Linked DNA regions of Homo sapiens: all the other regions are linked to region 3. Evidence: promoter capture Hi-C in human tissues and cell types (Jung and others, 2019). All regions are on one chromosome and are shown on one strand. Each heading gives the region's core, a stretch centred on a gene start or on the middle of the fragment in contact. The rest is flanking DNA. Distances are from core to core; before and after follow the strand shown.

The links. Contacts are between HindIII fragments. The study calls those that stand out against the background at their distance.
Region 1: a contact is called between a fragment that was not itself captured here and the fragment with the promoter of ZBTB24 in region 3, in 1 of the 25 tissues and cell types used here (hippocampus).
Region 2: a fragment that was not itself captured here is called in contact with the fragment with the promoter of ZBTB24 in region 3 in 1 of the 25 tissues and cell types used here (H1 embryonic stem cells).

What each region holds. Positions count from the first base shown.
Region 1 is chr6:110,166,026-110,169,761 of GRCh38, reverse strand. All of the region lies in intron 2 of WASF1 (WASP family member 1), which reads left to right. Among named protein-coding and RNA genes, the nearest start is that of WASF1, 12 kb to the left of the region's middle. The HindIII fragment of the contact is 5,875 bases long and covers 1-3,736 here.
Region 2 is chr6:110,320,089-110,324,166 of GRCh38, reverse strand. It overlaps METTL24 (methyltransferase like 24), which reads left to right. Exons shown (of 5, transcript NM_001123364.3): 2 at 1,295-1,393. Among named protein-coding and RNA genes, the nearest start is that of METTL24, 36 kb to the left of the region's middle. RefSeq lists an enhancer at 720-1,327. The HindIII fragment of the contact is 6,552 bases long and covers 1-4,078 here.
Region 3 is chr6:109,481,415-109,485,255 of GRCh38, reverse strand. ZBTB24 (zinc finger and BTB domain containing 24) reads left to right here and starts at 2,037. Exons shown (of 7, transcript NM_014797.3): 1 at 2,037-2,158; 2 at 3,202-3,841. The coding sequence starts at 3,230. It overlaps ZBTB24-DT (ZBTB24 divergent transcript), which reads right to left and starts at 1,612. Exons shown (of 4, transcript NR_187591.1): 1 at 419-1,612. RefSeq lists silencers at 1,537-1,976, 2,057-2,346. The HindIII fragment of the contact is 15,822 bases long and covers 1-3,841 here.

The DNA.
Region 1 (3,736 bases), core at 13-2,512, 690 kb before region 3:
TAAGTTTTAAGTATAGACCACTACAGAATTTTTTTACAATAGTCACTAAAATTTAACTGCCTTGGGCTTACCCCTGACTTAAGCTTCCTCTAGATGTAATGAAAAAATGGGATTATTTTGATTTACTTGTTAGGTCGCAATACTGGAGGTGAGTGTTGGGGACTGATTTCAGAGTTCAAGTCATGTGCAGTGTATCAGATTTGTGTACCATCAAAGGAGTTGAATGAAAATGGCTGTATTGTGTCCTTTTGATGAGATGCAACTGTTTTACCAGCAATTTGCATACATTTGAAAGTTGACTGAACTGGTTAATGGAGAATCCAGTACTTTGCTTTAATTTAAAGATGATCTCAAATCCTAAGTGATTTGGTGCTGTTACTAGAAATAGAGAAGCCCAAAGAATAAGTTTCCTTTTTGGGGAGAGTGGGGAATGATGGATAATGAATTTGATTTTGGATATTTTGAATTTGAGTTAGTGAGATGTCCCTGTGGAGCTGTCTGGCAGACTGATAGCACAGGAGTATATATTGTCAGGACTGTTAGGGTTGATTGTTTAAGTTTGTGTAAGTAATTTAGAATTGATGGTTAAAGATCTAGCAGTGATGGATTTATGAAGAGGAGAAAGTGTAGAACTAGGTATAACAAAACTGTTGATGCCTAACATTTAGTGGAAAGAAAAAGGAGAGACAGAAGAGGATGCTGAAGTTGTGATCAAAGGATATAATGTGTTGCATTCTTAATATGACTGTTCTGTTGGGACAGGGGATAAGGCCTTGTGGTCTGGCCAGATCTCTGAAGAGGAATGTGAGATGCTAGTGAGTAGGAAGGGAAGCAAAGCAAAAGTGTGTTGATGGTTTTGAAAGTAGAGGAGAATGACAGGATTGCAGGAACTTGGTAAGGACAAAGTTGTTTTATAATAATGAGGCAATGAATGGATAGGGTAGAATATTCATGTCAGAAAGAGACACTTCGGAGATGGAGATCTCATAGGCAGAACTATTAAAAAAGTCTGTGCACAGACACTTGATGTGCTTAGTAGTAGAAGGAAAGGTGCTACTCCTCAGGACTGGAAGTACTGGCAGTGGAGTACTCGAGAGAGATGGGGTCCAGTTTTAAAAGCCTTGCTCTTGTCTATATACTTCTAACAGTTGCTCTAGGCTTGGCAAGTAGTAAAGCCACATCATTTGAAGTGGGAATCTTGGAGGGATGAAGGTGGTTATGTATTGCTGCTGATTCCTGTATTTTAAAATGTATTCTTCTTGCTTGCAAAAGCAAGTCTTTTTCATTGTGATAGAGGCAGTGCACAACTGCATGCCTCATATACAGTAGTGTTAACATCATAAAAATCACCATTTTCACTATCACAGAAGGAAATGAAATAGAGCATGTCTTTCAGAGGATTTGTACATACAGAACTTAATTTCATTCATTAGCATTAAAAATAAAATGTAAATTTTTTGGTAATGCTATACTAAGTACAGAAAGATGACATTAATGACTTCTTATCAGTTAAACATGAATTTCAATATGTATTTCATATAGTAGGGATGGATTTATGAGTTCCTCAACAATTTTAATTAAATTCACTCGTTATTAACTGTTATGTGAGAGGTCATGTTAGGACCAGAAAGTGTGGTGAAAATAGTATTTATTTTACTATTCTAATTAAATATTCTTTGAGGTATAAGAGATAATTGTTATAAAAGGGCTTTTGGAAAAAGTCTATATTAACATAAGATGCTACTGTTAAATTTTAAGGCTAGGGAACTAGGACCGTAGACAAAATCATGATTTACGTTTTTCATTAAATACTCAGTGTGGTATGTAAATGTTTCCAATGTAATCAGTGACTAGAATAAACAAATATTTGTTTTGGTTATCATCAATTTAGCTTTATTATTTTGAATTTTAAGTGACTATACCAATCATATTGAACTTAAACTACAGAAAGATGGTGATGATTTATTGAAAATTAAGTCACTTATTTTTAATTATGTTGTTTCTATTTGAATTTGTTTTTTATTTGTAGCTGCCTCACCGAATATTAGTAGAATTATCTATGGTTGACCTTATTTGAGGGTTATAGTGAAACATGTAAGTTATAGATGTATCTCATCTTAAGAAAACATAATATGAATGAGATTACTAATGAAGTGAGCTTAGATAAAAATAAGAGAAAAGGTACCAGGACTAAGTCCTGGAGTCCTCAAAGAATTAGAGGTACAGAAGTTAAAGAAAAGGATGCACTAGCAAAGGAGACTGAGAAACACACACCTTATCCTAGGCCTACGCAGGGTCAGAATAATTGATATCACTGTCTTCTACCTCCACATCTTGTCCCACTGGAAGGTCTTCAGAGGCAGTAACAAGCATGGAGCTGTCATCTCCTATGATAACAATGCCTTCTGGAATACCTCCTGAAAGAGCTGCCTGAGGCTCTTTCTAACTTTGAAAAAAAAAATAAGTAGAAGGAGTACAGTGTAAAATAATGATAAAAAGTATAGGATAGTAGATACATAAACCAGTAATATAGTAGTTTATTATTATCAAGTATTATGTAACTATACTTTTATGTAACTGGCGGCACAGTAGGGTTTTTTTTTCCAGTATCACCACAAATATGTGAGTAATGCTTTGCATTATGTATGATGTCTACATTGTGTATGATGGCTAACACTGCATGATGGCTACAGTGTTACTAGGTGATAGGAATTTTTTTTAGTTCCCTTAGAACCTTATGTGACTACCAACATATATGTGGTCCATCACTGACTGAAACTCATGACTGCAACTCCAGTTATATTAAGATAGCATAGCCCTTTATCCTTGGAAGATTCTGCTTTAAGAAATACTTTAAAATTTTTTTCACACAAAAAAATAAACATTTTTGAGTTTTGTGTGTTATATGCCAGGCTTTATGCTAATCATTGTATCTTATTTGATCCTCATAAACAGCCAGCCAAAGAAGGCAGGACTAGCCACAGAGGGACGGAGAAGTTAAGATTCTTTGCACAGTTTGTAAATGGCAGAGCCAAGATTCAAACCCATCTGATCTGTGGTCAGACTCTGTACTCCTAACTGCTATTTTGTCTACCTTTAACTGCTATTTTATCTACTCTGCTTTTAAATTTTACAGATTAAATACAACTAGCAATATTTTTGCTTGAGGACACAGTAAATAAAAAATTCTCATCCATTGCTAGAGTATAAAATACCAATATTAGTTTATTATTTTAATGAATGTAACACTAAAACTGAAAGACCTTTCATTTCATGTTGACTTTCTGGTGTCCCTGGTCATTTTTTGAGCCTTGCTCTCTATAAAATGAGTAAGCTAACTGTTCTCATTGTCTTCAGGATAGTCTTGGTAAAGACTGTACTTTGGTGTGAAAATGTAATTTGGGGAATACCACTGATATTTTTAAAACATTTAAAATCTTTTCAGGGTAAAAGAGTTCAGAAATATTTTGGTCAAAATGAGGACTCAGATTAGGAGAATTATTGTAGGGCATTTTTTTTTTCAATTGGTAAACTCTCTTCTTAGTCTTTTTTCTCCCTGGTTTCCTGATCCAAGACACTGTTTCTTTTTCATAAGCATTCATCTGCTTTTCCATTTCCTTTATTCCCTAAATAATATAGAATAAATGGCTTATCGTATTTTGGCTTGGTGTATCACTGATTTTTTCATGAATGATTCTGTTTTCCCATCTATATCCTTGACATCTTTAAAATATAA
Region 2 (4,078 bases), core at 140-2,639, 840 kb before region 3:
CAAGTGAGAATGGATTCCTCTTCCCCAAACCCAGACCGTCTGGCTTCACATAGACTAACCTTGTTCCCCACTACTTTCCTGTTTTCTATGTAACCCCGAGTCACCTAGGCCACCCCATCTAGGGGCAACAAACCACATTTGTACTAAAGCATCTCACGGCTGGCCTGTCTAGATGTTTCTTTCTTGGGTGCTGAGAGTTCCCACCACAGTACCTGACTGGAGAACACTGTGTATATGTGAATGATCCCTTTATCTTGCCCCCAGAACCCTCCCCTGCCTACTTCCTCACCATATAAAAAGGGGTTTAGGGGCCCATTCTCACTACACTGCAGGAAACCTATGCTATGACGCCCAAAGCCTTTCCTGGCACTAGACATTGACCCCGCCAGCTGCTGGAGCTCTCCCTTCCCCCAGCCCTTCCCTACCCTGCACGAGCCGTCCCCACCCCTGGGAATTGCAGCAAACCTCCTGGAGGTCTCTTGGTGTTGACAACTATAGGTGGGAGTTTTGAGCTCTAATAAGGATTTCCTGACTAGTGCCCCCTTTTTACTGGAGGGGCTACCATTTTTGTTTCCTCCAGACCATTGCATTCCCCCAACCCTTCATCCACCCATCCTTGCTACAAAAGGGGGCTGAGCGGGTCATCCTTAACCACTCTGTTCTTGGGAGCACCTCGTAACCTCTGCTAACAGGTGGTGGCTGCCTCACAGTGCTAGAAAGCCACCCTCCCCAGCCCTGGTGATGACAGTTCTGGGGTCCTCGCTCTGCCTGTGCAGGGTCCCAGCAGCCAAGGGCCGTGGTCCCATCTCCCTGCACTGAGGAAGATAAACAAATGCCCAGAACAAAGACAAGCCCCCAGCATTATGGTGCTTTGTTTAGAGAGGCACATATTCTTGAAGCTCTAAGCTTTGGGAGACTGTCGTCGATAAGGGAGTTTCTTTTCCCGGAGGAGCACAGCCTCATATAAAATAAGCTGCAGTTAAGGGAGAGCCCAATGGGGTCAAGTGGAGTTTGCCTTTGATCATACATGCAGAGTCAGACAGTCCTGGGGCCTTTGCATTCTCCTGCAAATTCCCCAACCTGGGAGTTGTGCTGTCTCCGGCCTCATTTGTCTCCCTGCGACTGATGTGGCCTTAATGACAGCAGCTCGCAAAGAGCCTCCTGCTGCCTGTGTGCATATGTGTGTGTTTTGCTGACAGCCAAAGCAGCCTTGCTTCCTCTCTGATACTGTGTCCTTCTCCTCCCACCCAGTTCCTCTTCCTTACACACAACCTATGTTTTCTGTCTCTTGCAGGGTCCCCGGTGGCATATAGATCTCCAGCCTTGGGCAGGCTCTGCTCAGTCCCTGGATGAAGAAGCCTGGAGGTTCCTGAGATATATCAGCACCACCCAGGTTGTGTTTCAGGCTCAAAGAAGTTAGAGAAGAATGTGAAAGATCCTGATTGCCTCTTTTGAAAGAAGGAGGTGGGGGAGGTTCTCAGCGACTCCTGATGAGGACTTGATGGGGAAGTGTGTTCAGAGGCATTGTTGCTTAAACTCATCCACTCACTTGGAGGCAGATAAGATACCTTCCATTTGCTAGGGCATGTTCCTTCCTCCAAGAGTGTCACCAACCTGAAATGTTTAAATGATTCATCCCAAAGTGTTTTAAAGATCCACTTTAGAAAATTGCTTTGGAAAACCATTTGAAATGACAGATTGGTCCCCGTGAGTAGGCAGTCGAGTATGTCACAAAACAAAACCATCATCTAGAGGTTCAAGCACCATTTTGTATTTGGAGGAACTTGCCTTTCCACTCTTCTGTCACAGATGCTTGGCAGCCAGGGATGTGCTAGGCAAGAGAGCAGAGGAGGCTTTGCAGGCAGTGTGCTGAGGAGTTAATGAATCCAAAGGCTCTCTATCTCAGAGCACTTGAAATCATTACTGAGCACGGGCCTTTATTAGTGACTTAACACATTGTGGTAGTTCCTGCCCAGCTCCAGGCTGAGCCAGTGCCCCGAGCAGGCAAAGAGACTGTCCATTAAGACAGTCTATGGCTCTTGACATGTTAATCAGAAGGTTCCATTCTCAAGTTGCCTGATCCCAGGGGGAAAGAGAGACAGAAAAGGAAATCAAGGCCCAAGGGAAATTTAGCCCTGAACTGAGAGGTGCTAGCAAATTAGCAGCTCAGACTGCCTGTGAGCTGCACAGAGGCCCACTCAGGAAGCTGCACAGTGGAGCTGGTGCTGCACGGGGGATCCTGGATTTTTAGAATCTCCCTCAAGCCCACTCTTGACATCCCTGTTCTCCTCCCCAGCCTCTCTGGCAGCAAAGCGCTTTTCCTCCGTAGGAGAGAATATATTTCCAGATCTTTAGGAGGTTAGTTAGTTTAGGGGTAAAAGAAAGTCTCATTTATCATATAATGCAGTGAGACAATCATAGGAATTTTAGTATTTGTCACCCAAACATGGACGTAAAAGCTTGTTGAATTAATCATGAGTGATGGGCTGTTGAATTAGTCCCTGTGCTTCTCATGATTTTATCTTATTTTGCTGCTGCAAATTAATTTGATGGACTTAGGCAGACTTAATTAAAATACTGAAATTTTAGTTTTGTAGTTTGATTTTACATGAACGATAAGAATCTGGACCTTTTAACTGTGATTTTCAAAAGCCCTTAAAGGCTCCAGAAGAAAATAAGAGGTTTTAATTTTATGAATCGGATTTGAGAACTATGGGCTTCACTCGCCAAAATAAATTTATGTAATGCAAGCTACCAAATTCCATTCTATATGTATTTCATGTTAATGTTCCATAACTTATAAAAGGCATGTTTGCTTAGAAGAAGCTATTGAGGCATGAAATGGTCATTTTTAGATCTCTCTTGGATCTTTCCCAGAAACTATGGGCTGAGAGGAGAAAATTTTTCTTTTCTTTTCTTTTCTTTTTTCAGAGACAGAGTCTCCCTCTGTTACCCAGGCTGGAGTTCAGTGGCACAATCTCAGCTCACTACAACCTCTGCCTCCCAGGTTCAAGTGGTTCTCCTGCCTCAGCCTCCCGAGTAGCTGGGATTACAGGAGCCTGTCACCATGCCCGACTAATTTTTGTATTTTTAGTAGAGATAGGGTTTTGCCATGTTGGCCAGGCTGGTCTTGAACTCCTGACCTCAGGAGATCCACCCACCTCAGCCTCCCAAAGTGCTGGGATTACAGGTGTGAGCCACTGCGCCTGGCCAAATTTTTTTTTTTAAAGCATCCTCCGTAGTCTGATCTTGTAAACCTGGGTACTTCACTTTGCTTCTCTGGCTCTCCTTGTTCTGATCCTGAAATGGAAGAGATTGTATCAAAATTATTTCTAAGGTCCCCCTCAGTTCTGTGAGCTTGTACTGTGCACAGAGCAGTATAGAATGGTTATTAACCAAGTATTTTTGAGTGTCTACAAGGTGCCAGGAACTGTTCTGGGCCCTGAGGATATAGTCTCTGCCCTTAAGGATCTAACCAACTCTTTGTGAAGGTGGATAACTGGATGTATAATTATTATTCAGCTTGATGAGCGATAATAGAGAATTTGTTGTTGAAGCTCACTAGAAGGATTTTTGTCCTCCAGAAAGAATGACGTAAAATTCCGGACCTCACAATGGTTTTTAATGCGGGGCCATTTTAGCCAGATAAGGTTCTGTGCTTTGATGTACTTCCGGGTTACTAGAAGGCCAGCAGATGGGAGTCACCAGAGATGACACTAAATGGTTCTTAATCAGAATCTTTTACTAACCAATGCTCCCTCCCCCTCCGTATGTAATGCAAAGCTTTATGGTTGCTTTTGGGGCTTATGCCTCATTTAGAACTCATCTTGACAATGAAAGCCTACGAAACTGGCAGAATATTAGAGTCACTGTTACCTAAAAATTTCAGTTAGCAGAAGTGAGTCATAATGGGCAAGGAAAAAAATAAAAGCTCTGAAGGTACTAATGCAAAATCCACCCCCATCCTCTTATGCTGCTTTTTAACATTAAGAAATATACTTCCCTCAAATCTGTGCTCAAGCTTGTACAGCAAGGCCAGCATTTGGTATGTGCATCATTGATGTATTCATTCCTCAAT
Region 3 (3,841 bases), core at 788-3,287:
CTTTCTGAAACTATTATTCATTAGTTTACTTGTATATTTGTCCTGTCTCCCCTTAGTAGAATGTAAGCTTCATGAGAGCAAAGGCCTTGTTAGTTGCTGTATCCCCAACACCTGACGCCAATGTCTGGCTCTTAGTAGACACTCGATAAATATCTGTTAGATGAATGTATGACACCCCAAATCCTGTTCTGCAAGATTTAAATTTAAGAAGACCTGTTAGGGGTAGACCGGCTGGCCTTAACAAGAACAAAAGTTTTGAAAAAGTCAGTATGGATCCAAAACAAAATTGCCTTGAAGAAAGGGCTAGTCTGTGTTGTGGGTGGCTGATGCTGGAAGATCCTCCAGACTCAGTCTTTCCTCGCAGGATTATGCTCCAGTGAGCAATGATTGAATGAGGAAATGGAAGTACCTGGCTTACCTTGGCACTGAGTCTTCTTATGCCGTTGAGGACCTCTGGAGGGACAGTGATTTGACTGCAACCCTCGTAGCAGCAAGAAACAATGAGGTAGCTAACTTCCTGCTGGTATGCAGAAGTCAGGGAGCGCTCCCCATCCCACTTGTACCCCCACAAATCCAGAGGACTTAGAGACAATTCAATATGAAAGGGAAACCTCAGAGAAGGAGCATGTGTGGCTTGAGCTAGTTTTAATAAAATCTAGTAAAAATGTAAGAGCCAGGTTGCTAATTACACCTCCGGTTCAAGATCAGGGAGGCTATAGATGGCATGTTGGGAATCTGGAAATGGGCAGAAAAATAAGTAATTAGGTATTGGCTAAGAGAGAGAAAATGCTGAAATAAATGGATGGAAGCAGGTGGGGAGTAGATCTGGATGGGGCTTGTAGACCACATTAAGAAGCCTGGACTTTATCCAGAGGGCATGTGGGAGCCACATGGATTCTAAGCCAAGGAGTGACTCTAGTCTCTGGATCTCATATGTACTTGGAGAAATCCTCTGTACTTCTGCGAATTAAAGAGAACAACGCTGCAGCTGAGACCAGTTAGAAACAGTCTATTGAACAAAGATGATGAAAGTTTGAATAATAATGATCATTTTAATCACAGCAGACGAATTAAACCAGGCATTTCCTAAGCCCATTACATACTTAATTTTGTTTATGCAATAGCAACCCTACCAAAGTGGCACTAGTGTTAACATCTCCATTTTACAGGTAAGGTAAAGAAGTTGTGAGGGTAAGTAATTTGCCCAAGATCTCTCAGAACCCAGGTTTCTCTGACTGCAGTGCTCTCTTCATTCCCTTAGACTAAGGCATCAGGAGTGGGGAGGAAAAGGAGGCAGATGTGAAAAACATTTAGGAGGTAAGTAATAGTTATTATATTAGCACTAGATAATGACGATGGTGATGATGATGACAATGATGATGACGGTAAGGGGGATTTCATGCCTTTATACATTCAAGAACAACACCAGATTCGGTGTCGGAGAAGAGATAAAATTAAGGTATTGGCGTTGAGCTAACAGTTTAATACGATATAAAACTTCCCAAAGGGAGGGGTCACAACGCCTCTCCTGTCCATTGCCCCCAATTCACCGCAAAAGTCGCTCCTGCCTGGGCTCCCCGGCAGTGCCACACGCAGGACCTCGGGCGCCGACACCGCCCCGCCCCTGGCCGCGCCCCGCCCCGGCCACTGTCCCTCCTCCGAAGCCGCGCCCCTCCCCGCCCTGCCCCGGCCCCGGCCCCGGCCCCGGCCCCAAAGCCCCGGGCCTGCCATCTCGCCCCGCCCTGCCCCGCCCCGCCGCGGCTCCCCCGACCCCAGGCCTGCATTCTCGCCCCGCCTTGCCCCTCCCCTCCCCTGCCACGCCCCAACCCTTGAACTGCCTTCGCGCCCCGCCTTGCCCTGCCTTGCCCCGCCTTGCCCCGCCCCGCCCCGCCCCGCCATCTCGCCCCGCCCCGCCCCTCACCTCCCTTCCCCTCCCCGCCGCTCTCGTGGCCCCCACCTCCAGGGGCGCCTCTGCGGGCCACGTGGTTCGGCGTCCGCGCGCAAGCGGCTCTTGGCGCCGCGCTTCCGGGTTGGCTGTGGCTGTGGCTGCGGCGGCGGCGCAGGAGCAGAAACCGGTGCGGCGCAGAAGCCCCAGAGGCGGGCGGGGCGGAGCGGAGGGCCAGCGGGCCCCGGCGTGGGTCTCCCGCCAGGCCGCCGGGTGAGTTGGCAGCGACCCGGACCCCACCGGGCGCCCCTGAGCGGTAGGTCTGCCGCGCCGACCCCTCCCCCGCCGTGTGCTCCCCAGTCGGGCCCGCGGGGCCTGGGCGGGGAGGTGGGGGTCTTTCCGCGCCACCTCTCCCTGCTGGGACCACCCGGGGCTGCGGGGGGCTCCGCGCCGCCCCTAGTGTGTCTGGCGGCCCCACGCAGCTTAAGTTATTAGTATTTTATTGCAGCTACCTCACATTCACTTTGCACGTGCACATTTCTTCACTCTTCACATTGGTTCCCACATACGAAATGGCTAATAATCTGGGAGATGGAGGCAGCTTCGTTCTCCCTGAAATAGTTGTGCAACCATAGAAAGTTCGTGCTTGCGGAGGATTTTGGAGATGGTTAATCCCATTCCTTCATTTTATAGAAGGTAGACCCTGAACCGTTCCATGAATACTGGAGAGTCACTCAGCTAGTTAATGTGCGGCAGGAGGCTGAGGGAGAGAATTGCTTGAACCTGGGAGGCGGAGGTTGCAGTGAGCCGAGATTGCGCCACTGCACTCCAGCCTGGGCGATAGAGCGAGACTCCGTCTCAAAAAAAAAAAACCGCGAGCTAAGTTGTTTTGTTTTTGTTTTTTGAGGTGGTGGTCTCGTTCTGTCGCCCAGGCTGGAGTGCAGTGGCACGATCACGGCTCACGGCAACCTCGAACTCCCAGGCTCAGGTGATGCTCCTGCCGCAGCCTCCTGAGTAGCTGGGACCACAGGCGGGCGCCACCACGCCAGGCTAATTTTTGTATTTTTTGTATAGATGAATTCTCTCCATGTTGCCCAGGCTGGTCTCAAGTGATCCGTCGGCCTCGGCCTCCCAAAGTGCTGGGATTACAGGCGTGAGGCCACTGCGCCCGGGCCCAGAGCTAAGTTTGTAGACAGACAAAAATGGTAATGGTAAAATTCAGTTAATGATGTGAAGTGAATAGGAAGTTCATGTGGGCTGGCATTAACCTTTTAGACAGTGCTTTCTCCTTTTTAAACCTTGTTTTCTTATTTCAGATTTAACCCTTAGTGGCTTCTGAAGAAAATGGCAGAAACATCGCCAGAGCCTTCTGGGCAGCTTGTTGTACACTCAGACGCTCACAGTGACACTGTGCTGGCCAGTTTTGAGGATCAGAGGAAGAAAGGCTTCCTCTGTGACATTACTTTAATCGTGGAGAATGTACATTTCCGGGCCCACAAAGCCTTACTTGCTGCCAGTAGTGAATACTTCTCAATGATGTTTGCAGAAGAGGGGGAAATCGGCCAATCCATTTATATGCTGGAAGGCATGGTTGCAGACACCTTTGGTATCCTGCTGGAATTTATCTACACAGGTTATCTCCATGCCAGTGAGAAAAGTACAGAACAAATCCTGGCTACTGCTCAGTTCTTAAAAGTCTATGACCTGGTAAAGGCTTACACAGACTTCCAAAATAATCATAGCTCCCCAAAGCCAACAACTTTGAACACTGCTGGTGCCCCAGTGGTTGTTATCTCTAATAAGAAAAACGATCCTCCAAAGCGGAAACGGGGAAGACCAAAAAAAGTCAATACATTGCAGGAGGAGAAATCAGAACTGGCTGCAGAGGAAGAAATACAGTTAAGAGTGAACAATTCAGTTCAGAATAGACAAAACTTTGTGGTTAAAGGAGACAGT